Linked DNA regions of Homo sapiens: region 1 is linked to region 2. Evidence: promoter capture Hi-C in 16 types of primary human blood cells and fetal thymus (Javierre and others, 2016). All regions are on one chromosome and are shown on one strand. The core of a region is centred on a gene start or on the middle of the fragment in contact, and the rest is flanking DNA. Distances in the headings are between cores, read along the strand shown. Region 1 overlaps LOC107984515 (a long non-coding RNA gene). Region 2 holds the start of OR9K2 (olfactory receptor family 9 subfamily K member 2).

The links. The method cuts DNA at HindIII sites, captures the fragments that hold promoters and counts their contacts. A CHiCAGO score of 5 or more calls a contact.
Region 1: a fragment that was not itself captured here is called in contact with the fragment with the promoter of OR9K2 in region 2 in 2 of 17 cell types (naive B cells and endothelial precursors); the score reaches 6.2 in naive B cells.

The regions. Positions count from the first base shown.
Region 1 is chr12:54,994,312-55,000,449 of GRCh38, reverse strand. All of the region lies in intron 1 of LOC107984515 (a long non-coding RNA gene), which reads right to left. Among named protein-coding and RNA genes, the nearest start is that of TESPA1, 13 kb to the right of the region's middle. The HindIII fragment of the contact is 2,286 bases long and covers 943-3,228 here.
Region 2 is chr12:55,123,218-55,129,265 of GRCh38, reverse strand. It overlaps OR9K2 (olfactory receptor family 9 subfamily K member 2), which reads right to left and starts at 2,860. Exons shown (of 3, transcript NM_001005243.2): 1 at 2,750-2,860; 2 at 2,355-2,438. It also overlaps the pseudogene LOC644383. The HindIII fragment of the contact is 7,142 bases long and covers 1-4,259 here.

The DNA.
Region 1 (6,138 bases), core at 836-3,335, 130 kb after region 2:
GCAACTTCTAATTATCTATGCATCTGTCTCTCTTTCTCTAGACTGAGTTCCTGCAGGGGAAAGACTCTCCTTTTCTTCTACCCTGGATCATCTCTAGAGCAGTGCTTGGTAAGGTGCTGAAAACTTGGCACTAAATGATCAAATGAATGAATAAAGAGGCAGAGAAGGTTGCTGAGTATATGGAAGAACATCAGAGATCCAGTCAGAGGTTTTCTTTTGTTTTTAGAAATTCTACTACCAGAAATTTTTCCTTCAATGCTTTGAAATATCAGATTCTTCCTTAAATGCACTTCCAAAGGAAGTAGTCACACAAAAATGGAACAATTATTTGTGGGAGGGATCATTGTAGGCAAATTTGAGAGGAAAGTTGGTGGCAAAAGAAAGGGCCCTAACGGGGGTTGCCCAGACCTTTAAGAGGCAGATCTGCTCTCCCTCAGTTAGGAGGACATGAATTTGGGGTCCAGAAAACTCCAGAAGTAAAACATCCGTCAGCTGTTCAAGGCCATCTCTGGCTACTCCTTTCGTCTTATCCTTTATGCGTGCAGGTCATGAAATTGCTATGACTTTCTTGTCCCTATATCTTTTCTCTCTCTACCCAGAATTCCTATCCTTATTTTATTGGCCTTCTGAACAATTTTTCAAAACCTCACCAAGAATCACCTCGTCATTGATGCCTTTTCTGATTCTTATTGCAAGCCTCTTGTGTTGCCACTGCGCCTTGCACAGATTTCTTGATTTCTGCACATCTACACACATTTAGACCCATCATGAGGTCCTGATCTTTCTGAAGGCAAGAATTATGCCTTTACATGTTTCAATACCCATCTCAGTATGTGGCATATGGCAAGTGAGCAATAAATGTTTGTGGAATCAAGAAATTAAGTAAACCTTGTCTCTAGGGAAATTGTTTTACATCAAACTAAAACCTGGGCTTGGAAAGCTTCCGTACTTTCATACTTAAGTCCTTATGGATGAACCATAACCGAACTTAGTAGGTAGGCAGGGTGGAAATCTAACTGAGGAGTATACTTCTGTAACAAAAGCTGAGTCTCAGCCAATCCCAGTAGCCATACTCCAGCCATTCACAGGCTGTTGTTTAAACCATGTTTAAGTAAGGCAAAATGCCAAGCTGTAACCAGCCTAGCTATTTCCGTACATCACTTCCGTTTTATGTAAATCACTTTCCTTTTTTGGTCCATAAACTCACTCTGACCGCCAGGCATCCCTGGAGCCTCTCTGAATCTGCTGTGATTCTGGGGGCTGCCCAATTCATGAATCTTTTTTTTTCTTGTTCAATTAAACTCTGTTGGCCAGCACAATGCCACACACCTGTAATTCCAGCATTTTGAGAGGTCAAAGGAGGAGCATTGCTTGAGCCCAGGATTTTGAGACCAGCCTGGACAAGATAGCAAGACCCTGTCTCTGCAAAAAGAAAAAGAAATTTAATTAAAAAATCTATTAAACTCTGTTAAACTTAACTTGTCTAAAATATTTCTTTTCACAATTGAAACTTTTATGTTGTTCCAGCCATAAATAAGGAAAGGTAAAAGTTGAAGAATCAGCCTTGAAACAGTGTTCTGTAAGGGAAGCAACACTCTTTTTCACATGAGACAGAAGTAAAAAGAATTCAGCAACAATCATTTCAGGACAGGTTGCAGTGAGTATCTGAAGGAAAGATTTTGGTGCTGGGAACAAGGGAGGGACTCACAAAGGTAGCAGAAGAGTCTCATTCACGAGAAAGAGTTTCATGCTATGTTCTCTTCCTTGGCCTGATGGTGGTGGTCAGGCCCAGCTGAGCTGACCTGCAGGACAATGGATGGGACTTAGAAGGGTCATTTGAGTAAAACTCTCTTCTCCCATTCTGGTGTAATCTAATTCAAGGGCCCAGATTGGTTGGGGAAGACAAAACCACCCAGGCAAGAAGAGTCAAATATCCTCTGCAAATATTGGCAGTGCTCATTTACTTTTTATTGGCCCTGTACCCCAAAGGTGGGGGAAGACAATTCCATCCCAGAAAATATAATTAGTCAGCCTGCTGGTTTGGGCTCTAATTTAATCTGGGCAGCTGTGCCAGGAGCTTATATTAGCATGACACTGGGAGGCGGAGAATATAATTACTGAGCAATAGAGAAGGGGAGGAGAAGTGGGATGGTGACCAGTGTGTGTCTGTGATAGAGGATGGAGCTGGGGGGAGGGTGATGTCTATGGAGGGCGAGGATTCCTTTGGGAGTAAGGAAGAGGAAAGGGGCTTCTGGCAGTGGATGGACGGTGACTTTAATTTGGCTTTTGAGAAATTAGTGTGCAGTATATATATGTGTGTGTGTGTGTGTTGGGATGTTGGGTGTTGGGGGAGGGGGATTCGTAGCTCCAGGCTGGTCCACTCTGCATGACAAAGGTGAGCTTGAGAGTTGATGGATGGGCTTTGTGAGTTACCCTGGAGGGAATAGATGGGGGATGTTGGAGCAGGTTATGGCTGAATTTGGGACAAATATCCTTAGATACTTTTTCAGAGGATCAATCTAAATGGGGGAAGCAGAATGAAGACATGAAATTTGCACATGTATTATCTCCTTTTTGTTTCAGGCAGAAGAGATGTGATTAAAAGAATACTTCTTAGGTGATTTCATTCGTTCATACAGGAAAGCTACCAGGTACAAATTTGCTGCCAGGGTACTTACTTTCAGCTGGGCTCTAGGTTAAGCAGCTTACACTTACTGTCTTAAGTAGTCCTTGCCAAGCTCAACAAAAGTGTTAGGTGTTATAATCCTCATGTAACAATTGAGGAAACTGAGGCTCAGAGACTTTAAGTAAAATGCCCACAGTCACATAGCTAGTAAGTTTTGAAGGTATGATTCAAATCCAGGCTTGTCTGACTCTAAACACTGTGCTAATAATCCACAACTCCAAATAGCTATTATCCTCTCCATTTATATATGGGGAAACTGAGGCTCAGAGTGGTAAAGTAATTTGCATTTGCTCAAAATGTGAGTTACTATCAGAAGTTAAAATAGAATTTGGATCTTATGCAATACTGTCTCTTTACCAGAGGACATATGGGGGAAAAGAAGAAGATATTGTTTGCCGAGGAAAGAGCTGGATATACAGAAAGAAACAAATAGAAACCAGGTTTCCTCACCCTCAACCCAATGCTCTTTCACTGTAAGTGACAAATGTGACAACAGCTAAAGTCTCTGCTCCTTTCTTAAGTACTAGATGATATACTAAGCTTTACATACTCCCTCATTTCACTTGCACATCACTTTGAGGTCGCCACTATGATCGTCTCGTGTTACATGAGAAGGCGAAGGCTTCAAGGATGTGTAACTTGCCCAAATTCAAATAGCAGGTTAATGACAGAGCAGGGAGTCAAACCCAGACAGGCCATTCTCTAGTCACTGCCTCCCTATGGAACACACGGCCCCTCCAGGCATCATCGCATCCCTCCCGTTGTCAGAAAATCTTGGAGATCCATAGAAATCTTTCTTTATGACAAACATAAGCCAGTCCCACTCAGATGTCTGTCTGTTATTGCAGAGAGTAGGTAGACATGTAGGGATACACTGGGGATCCTTTTCTTTACCCTCAGAGTTAATTTTCCCTGTGGCTTTTAACCTTTCCTCTCCCCTTCAAGGACTCGCAAAATCATTCTGGCCCTACCCTAACTGCCTCTTGTCTTCTAAGAAAAAGCAGAGGAGAAGCCAGTTTCTCCTTTTCCTTCATACTTTGAGGTTCTGTTGCTCTTTCAGCTCTGTTTTTCCCAGGCAAATACCTCCCACTGGGGCCTTGAGAACCACTGGGAGTCAGAGGCAAGAGAAGCCAGCTTTCCTCCTCCCAAAGGAGGAAGATATGGAAGCTGTGCTCTCAGGCCTCTGGAAACCCAAGTTAGCTAGAGGAGAACCCCCAACGCCCGCCTGCAGAGTTCTGCTTGCTCAGCTGCTCAGCATCTGCCCTGCACCCAGAACTGGGTCTTCCCTAGGGTTCCTGCCAATCTCCTGGGCTCTGGCAAGAGGAACCAGGGGTGCAGATGTGTCCTGCATCCTGAAGCCTGCGGGCATCACTGGGCAGCCCCACAGCTCACGTTCAGGAAACCATCTTGATTGTACAGATTTCCTCCTGCTGATGTCCTCCACCCCTACAGATTTCTCTCCTTATCTCTTCTCCCTCACTCCTCTAAATCCACACGTGCCCTAAAAGGGCACATGATAAAATTACACAGATCTCTTGACTAAAAGTCAAAAGGCTTGATTTTCCCACTAGCTGTGTGGGCATTGATTTTCATCTGTCAAATGAGACAATTGGCATCTGCTCTCCATTTCCCACAACTTGTCATGAGAATGTGAGGAAAATGTGTATTTAAAAAGCTGGTATGTCAGTGACAAGCCAATGTTAGTATTGTCACTGCAATCAATGGATTATAAAGTAGCGTATATAATGCATATAGGTTTCAGAATCAGAGACATCAAGCTTTAAATCGTGGCCTTCTACAGAGACTCCTGAACCTCAGTTTCTTCATCTGTATAATTGGAATGCTAGTGCCTGCCTTGAAGGGTTGCTGTGAGATTTACACGAGAGGATGTACAGAGAAACAACCAGAAGAGAGATGGGTGAGTTGGAAGAGCTTAATGTATGTTTCTTTTCTCCCATATTCTAATGTTTTCCAAATTTAATCCAGAGCTGTTAGGTCTCTGCACTTATGATTGTGCTGGTTGTTCCTTGCACAAGGGAATCTGCCCAAAGGAACAAATCCATCCAAAATGTGTGATCTGAGCCTGGGCTGCACTGGCCTGATAGGAGGACATCACCAATCTACCAAGATTCGTATGTGCTAGACTCAAGGTTAAAAGATTACCTGGAGCAGGTCAGAACTTGGGTACCAGAGTCCCAGACAAAAGGAAGGCCTAGGCTGGGTGCGGTGGCTCACACCTGTAATCCCAGCACTTTGAGAGGCTGAGGCGGACAGATCACTTGAGGTCAGGAGTTCGAGACCAGCCTGGCCAACATGGTGAGACCCCGTTTCTACTAAAAATACAAAAATTAGTTGGGTGTGGTGGCAGGCGCCTGTAATCCCAGCTACTCGGAAGGCTGAGGCAGGAGATTTGCTTGAACCCAGGAAGCACAGGTTGCAGTGAGCTGAGATCGCACCACTGTACTCTAGCCTAGGAGCCAGAGCGAGATTCCATCTCAAAAAATAAAACAAACCAAAAAAAAAAAAAAAAAAAAAAGGAAGGTCTACAATGTGTCAGAGTTGAAGATAGTAAAATCACACACTCACAGTTTCTAGGGTGACATTTCTAAACATGGTTCTGATTTTATCCTATCCAGCTCAATATATTTTTGATGACTCCCAACTCTTAAGAAGATAAAATACCAAAACTAGTAGGTGAGAGTTGAAAGCTTAATAAGGAATAGGATATTGACATAGTTTGAAAATATTTAAAAGTACTTTTTAATTTAAAAAGGAAAATTATAAATTTACAGTGGAAAAAAAGAATACCACATTATATTACCAATAATAGGAAAACTGATACTACATACTTCCTGATGTGATGCACTGGGGAGACATCATCACATGTAGTAATCCTGACAAAATTGTCTAACGCAGATTGAATCACATGAACTGCAGACAAATCAAATTGAGAGATGCTCTACAGAATAGAAGGACTATACTCTTTAAAAATATCAACATCAAGTACACCATGGACACAAAGCAGGAAGCAACTTTGGGTCTACTTGAGGGTAATGAGTGGGAGGAGGGTGAGGATCAGAAAACTACCCATTAGGTACTATGCTCATTACCTGGGTGATGAAAGAATGTGTACAGCAAACCCCGCAACACCCAATTTACCCATGTAACATGTACCCCTGAACCTAAAACAAAAATTGGAAAGGAAAAAAATTCAATTTCCATGAAAGATAAAGAAAAGTAGAGAAAGAATTTCAGATTTAAGGAGACAAAAGAGACATGAAAACTATATGCAGTGTGTGATCCTACATATTATTTGGAAAACAATAAAGTCTGTAAACTAGATGATTGTATCAATGTTATTTTTAAAATTTTGATAATTATACTATAGTTATGAAAATTATTGTCTTTAATTTTAAGAGGCAAAGGGGCATAATATCTACAACTGATTCTCA
Region 2 (6,048 bases), core at 1,611-4,110:
AGTTATGTACCCACTAAGATAAAAGGTGTGTGCAACCAAGCACAAAATTATTACTACTCATATTCAAGAATTTCTGTCCCAGATGGGCCATCAAAGCACTTTCATAAAGAAAACTTCCCTTCATTTCTTGATCCCAAGACTTGGAGATCTTTAACTTCTAAGTTCAGGGGTGCAAGTGCACGTTTGTCACATAGGTAAACTTGTGTCATGGGGTTTTGCTGTACAGATCATTTAATCACCAGGGTATTAAGCCTAGTACCCATTAGTTATTTTTCCTGATCCTCTCCCTCCTCCCACCTTCCACCCTGCAAAAGGCTCCAGTGTGTGTTTTTCCCCTCTATGTGTCCATGTGACTTGCAGTTCTTTAAAAAGAGATCTACAGTAGAACTCTTCCACAGATAAAAGAGTTACTTTAGGAATTAATACTGCAAAGGATACATATGGGGGCATTGCTGATTACACTTTTATTTGCCCTGAATACAACTTTTGTAGCCATTATTAACTCATTACTGCTCAAATAGATTTTTTAACTTCGTATGTTAACAATACAAGCCACTCTTTCTCTGTCCTAAGGGCTTTATGTGCATGATTCTGTCTAGGCAACAATAATAACAAATATGTATATGGCACTTTTTATGTGCCAGACACTTTTCTAAATGCTTTCATAGTAGCTCATTTAATCCATTCAATAATAACATTAGGTGGTTATTATTATATTCCCAAGTTTACAGATGAGTAAATTGAGGTACAGAGAAATGAAGTCTGCTGAAATTCACTTACTTGAGTCAGAATCAAGATTTGAAGCCAGGAAAACTGGCTCCAGAATCCATGCTTTTAATCATCATTAATGATTAATCACTGTACTATATCAACTTTAAATAAAGGACCCTTCCTGTTCCCCTACCTTACTTCTGCTTGTACTTTAGAGTGTAGTTAAAATTTCATATTTCCAAATAAAATCTCTAATTCTTCAACCTGGGTCAAAACATCTCATCCAAAGATAATTTGAAGAGACCAACTGCCACCATATTTTAATATTGAGGTTACATATTAATTATTCTTCACTTGACAATAACTTAAGACAAAATTCAATTTGTTCTCCATATATTGTCAGCATAACGTTATGTGTCTGGTAAATGGCAGTTAATACATATTTACTATAGATAAAAGTTGAATGATAATGATCATGCAGAAACAGAGAAAAATATAAAAACTATCCATCCAATACTGCAGTGGTTAGTATGGGTTTTAGGTTTAAATAAATCTAGGCTCCAGTTCTGCTTCTCTCACTTTCTAAATGGGATCTTGGACAAGTTACTTATGCTCTCTCTCTATGCTACTGTATTCTCATATATAAAGTGGAAATAAGAGTCCTCAAAGTTTTCTTGGGAATAGAAAATGACATACGTATGTAAATCACTTAGCACCATTTATGGTAAACTAAGTATTCAGTAAATGTTAGCCATTATTTTTATTATACGTTTCAGTGCTCAGTCCCACTATTCATACCAAATAGTGCTTATTAGGTTGAAAACCAATAATATATATGGTCGTTTTTGGACAAAACATTCTCAGTTGAGGGGAAGAATCAATCTGTTAAAAGTTTAGAGAGATGAAGAACTCTTGGAGAAATGGAATATTTTGCCTGAGAAAAAAGATTATTAAGAGAAAAGCTGAATAAGATGTTATCATTATTTAAGACTGTATTAAATGTTGAAAATAAAATATTCACCCATTTTATCAAAAATTAAATATGTAAGTAATTAAGAAGTAGTAAGAGCTTACATTAGATTGCACTTAGGGTCTGGAAAGATGTGAGACATTTAAGAAGTGAAAGAAAGCTGACTGAAGTCAGCATGAAAAATCATTTTTTGAAAAATAATATATATAATTTATCTTCATTTTATTCTCATCTAGAAGCAAAACAGATTATTTTAATTTCTAAGATTTATTTCTATCAAACTCATTTCAACATTAGAATTTAATATTATTATTAATAGTAATTATTCCTCACTTGACAATAATATCCTTAACATCAAACTCAGCTTGTTTGCTGCGTATTGTCAACATAATGTTCTGAATCTAGTGAATGACAATAATTCAATACATATTATTACGTAGAAAAAAGCTGAATGATAATGAGTATGTGGAATCAGAGAATATAAAAAAACAAACTTATTAAAATAAATTTATATCATAAATGTTATAAACATTGTAACATTATAAATGTTAATAAATGCATTGCTGATGACATTTTTTACCTGGAAAAGGGAGTTATTCCCGCAGAAGCCAACAACAAGTAGTCAGTTTGTGACTTATTTTTCAAAAACTTACAGGTTTTAAGTTACTTTTACCTTGTATTGTTTAGTAACTGGTCAGATTCTGGTAAAAATCAATCAGCAGAGTTCCAATGTTTTCCTCTGTTTATTGTTTTAATTCTAGAAAGGATAAACATAAAGTTAATTAATGACTGTCATAATTATAAATACTGAAAAATAATTACTTTGAAATAAAATGAATCATTCCCCACAAATCCACATTTATTATTACAGTTTTAGATTCTTCCCATAGATAAATGTGGCTTATGTGCCTCATTGCTCTATTTTAAAAAGTCTTTTTTTCAGTAGTTGATTTCCTGAAAAGTTTTATAGTCCTTTTTAGAAGAGAGTCAAGGTGAATTTTTCAAATCATGTTCTGCCAAAACTGAAGTGATTCCAGGAACAAAAATCTATAGATAAGCAAAGTGAACCTGAGGAATCAATCCACAAGATATTATCTATCCTGAATTCTCAGAAACTTGTATGCTTTCAAGGCAAGAGGATAGATTGCCATGGATATGCAAGTAGAGGTCCTGAGCTCTTTGGCATCTCTGAATACTGCCAAAATATCAACAGCAGTTATCCACGAGGGCTTCGGTTTTGCTACAGCTTTTTCATATAATTACAGTATTGAGATTTCCTCTATGTTCTGGGAGACAGTACCTCTGGGAGAGAAGAACACAAGTCAATTAATTAGTAAGACTTCTAGGATCTAAAAGCAAGATCCATGAAGACCTCAGAGATTCTATATTTTTTTAAAAAGCCTAAGAGTACTTAAAGTACATATGAGACATTCTTTAGGAAAAATCACAAGGATCTTTTAATTTTAATTTCTTCACTGAAAAAGCAGCATTTTCAATTTATCATTATAGCACAGTTTTTGATAAGCAAGTAGAAATAGATACGAAAGGAAATGTTGTGGTTCATAATGCCATTTGTAGGAAAATTTTGAGTCCTAATCATAAAGTTAATTTCATATTTACTTTCAGAATTCTATTCACCCAAATCTCTCCTTGATGACTTTTTAAACTATATTTTCTCAATAGTAATTGAGAAGAAAGATAGAACAGCACGACCATGATATGGGCAAAAATCCAACAAACGCCCTCTAATCCATCAAGTAAAGGCCACATGATTAACTGGATCTAAAGTTGGGTTTATATTGTAATTTTAATTGCTTTAAAGTTGTTTATTCAGGTGTCATGTATTAAGTTAGTAACTTCTCATCAGTCCCTGTATATAGTTCAAAATAATTTAAAGAACTGTTGGTTCCTTCCGGTGAGTGTTAAAGTTCTTAAAGGTGGTGTGTCCGGAGTTTGTTCCTTCAGATATTTAGATGTGTCCAGAGTTTCTTCCTTCTGGTGGGTTTGTGGTCTCACTGACTTCAAAAGTGAGTTACAGCTCTTAAAATCTCTTAAAGGTGGCATGTCTGGAGTTGTTCGTTCCTCCCGGTGGGTTTGTGGTCTCGCTGACTTGGAACCAACCCAAATGTCCAACAATGATAGACTGGATTAAGAAAATGTGGCACATATACACCATGGGATACTATGCAGTCATAAAAAAGGATGAGTTCATGTCCTTTGTTGGGACACGGATGAAGCTGGAAACCATCAGTCTCAGCAAACTATGGCAAGGACAGAAAACCAAACACCGCACGTTCTCACTCATAGGTGGGAATTGAACAACTACAACACTTGGACACAGGGTGGGGAACATCAGACACCGGGGCCTGTCCTGAGGTGGCGGGGGGGGACAGATAGCATTAGGAGATATACCTAATGTAAATGATGAGTTAATGGGTGTAGCACACCAACATGGCACATGTATACATATGTAACACACCTGCACGTTGCGCACATGTACCCTAGAACTTAAAGTCTAATAATAATTAAAAAACAAAAACAAAAAAAGAAAAGAAAAAAAACAAAAAGGAGTGAAGCTTCAGACCTTTGCAATGAGTGTTACAGCTCATAAAGGTGGCACCTCCAGAGCTGTTCTTTCTTCGGGTGGGTTTGTAGTCTGGCTTGCTTCAGGAGTGAAGCTGCAGACCTTGGTGGTGAATTTTACAGCTCATAAGGGCAGCAGGGCCCCAAAGAGTGAGCAGCAGCAAGATTTGTTGCTAAGCTGAAAAACAAAGCTTCCACAGGGTGGAAGGGGAATCTAGTGGGTTGCTTTTATCCCCTTATTTGTCCTCACCCACGTCCTGCTGATTGGTCCATTTTACAGAGCACCGATTGGTCCATTTTTCAGAGTGCTGATTGGTCCGTTTTTACAGAGTGCTGATTGGTGCATTTACAAACCTTTACCTAGACACAGAGTGCTGATTGGTGTGTTTACAATCCTTTAGCTAAACAGAAAAGCTCTCCAAGTCCCCACCCCACCCAGAAGCCCAGCCAGCTTCACCTCTCAGTTGGTTCAGCAAAATGAATGTAAATTCAGTAAGGAGACTGAATTTAGAGCTCATTTTATCAATTGTTGTGTTCCCCTAGTAAAATTATCTCTCCGTTAAGCAGTAAGAATATTCATTCAGCAGGGACAAATGTCATGCAAGCATCCAGCAAAAAAAAATTGAGAGTGAGTTGATAGGTTTTACAGTGGTGGCTGACAATCCCATTTTGACTCCTTGTACTTGGACCTGTAATTGTTTCATATATTTGTCGCTAATGAAGAGCACAGATTATATCCTGGATGACAGTTACTCACCTTTCTAAAGTAATGACATCCAGTTGGTCCAACAACTGAATCTTTAATAAATTATTCCGGTCGCTGCCGCCGATGCTACCACCGCATTTGGATGTAGAATTTGGAATCCCTGTGCACCTGTTAACAAGGAAGCAGAGTTTGAACTGCCAACTTTCCTCAGCAAGCTGTGGACTCTTGTGGAGGAAACCCACACTAAGGAATTCATCACCTGGAACCAGAATGGCCAAAGTTTTCTGGTCTTGGATGAGCAACGATTTGCAAAAGAAATTCTTCCCAAATATTTCAAGCACAATAACATGGCAAGCTTTGTGAGGCAACTGAATATGTATGATTTCCGTAAAGCAGTACATATCGACTCTGAAATTGTAAAGCAGGAAAGAGATGGTCCTGTAGAATTTCAGCATCCTTACTTCAAACAAGGACAGGATGACTTGTTGGAGAACATTAAAAGGAAGGTTTCATCTTCAAAACCAGAATAAAAAAAAATTCTTCAGGAAGAATTTAAAAAAAATTATAAGTAGTGCTCAGAAGGTTTCAATAAAACAGGAAACTATTGAGTACAGGATTTCTGAATTAAAAAGTGAGAATGAGTCCCTTTGGAAGGAGATGTCAGAATTATGAGCAAAGCATGCACAACAGGAACAAGTTATTCAAAAGATTGTCCAGTTTACTGTTGCATTGGTTCAAAATAACCAACTTGTGAGTTTAAAATGTAAAAGTCCTCTACTTTAAACACCAATGGAGCCCAAAAGAATCTGTTTCAGCACATAGTCAGAGAACCTACTGATAATCACCATCATAAAGTTCCACACAGTAGGACTGAAGGTTTAAAGCCAAGGGAGATGATTTCAGATGACATCATTATTTACAATGTTACTGATGATAATGCAAATGAAGAAAATATCCCAGTTATTCCAGAAACTGGGAAACTGGGATATTATATCATATCCATATATCATATATGTATATGTGTATATATATCTCTCCAGGATGTTATGTCTGATCCCTCCAATTGTAGCCAGTACCC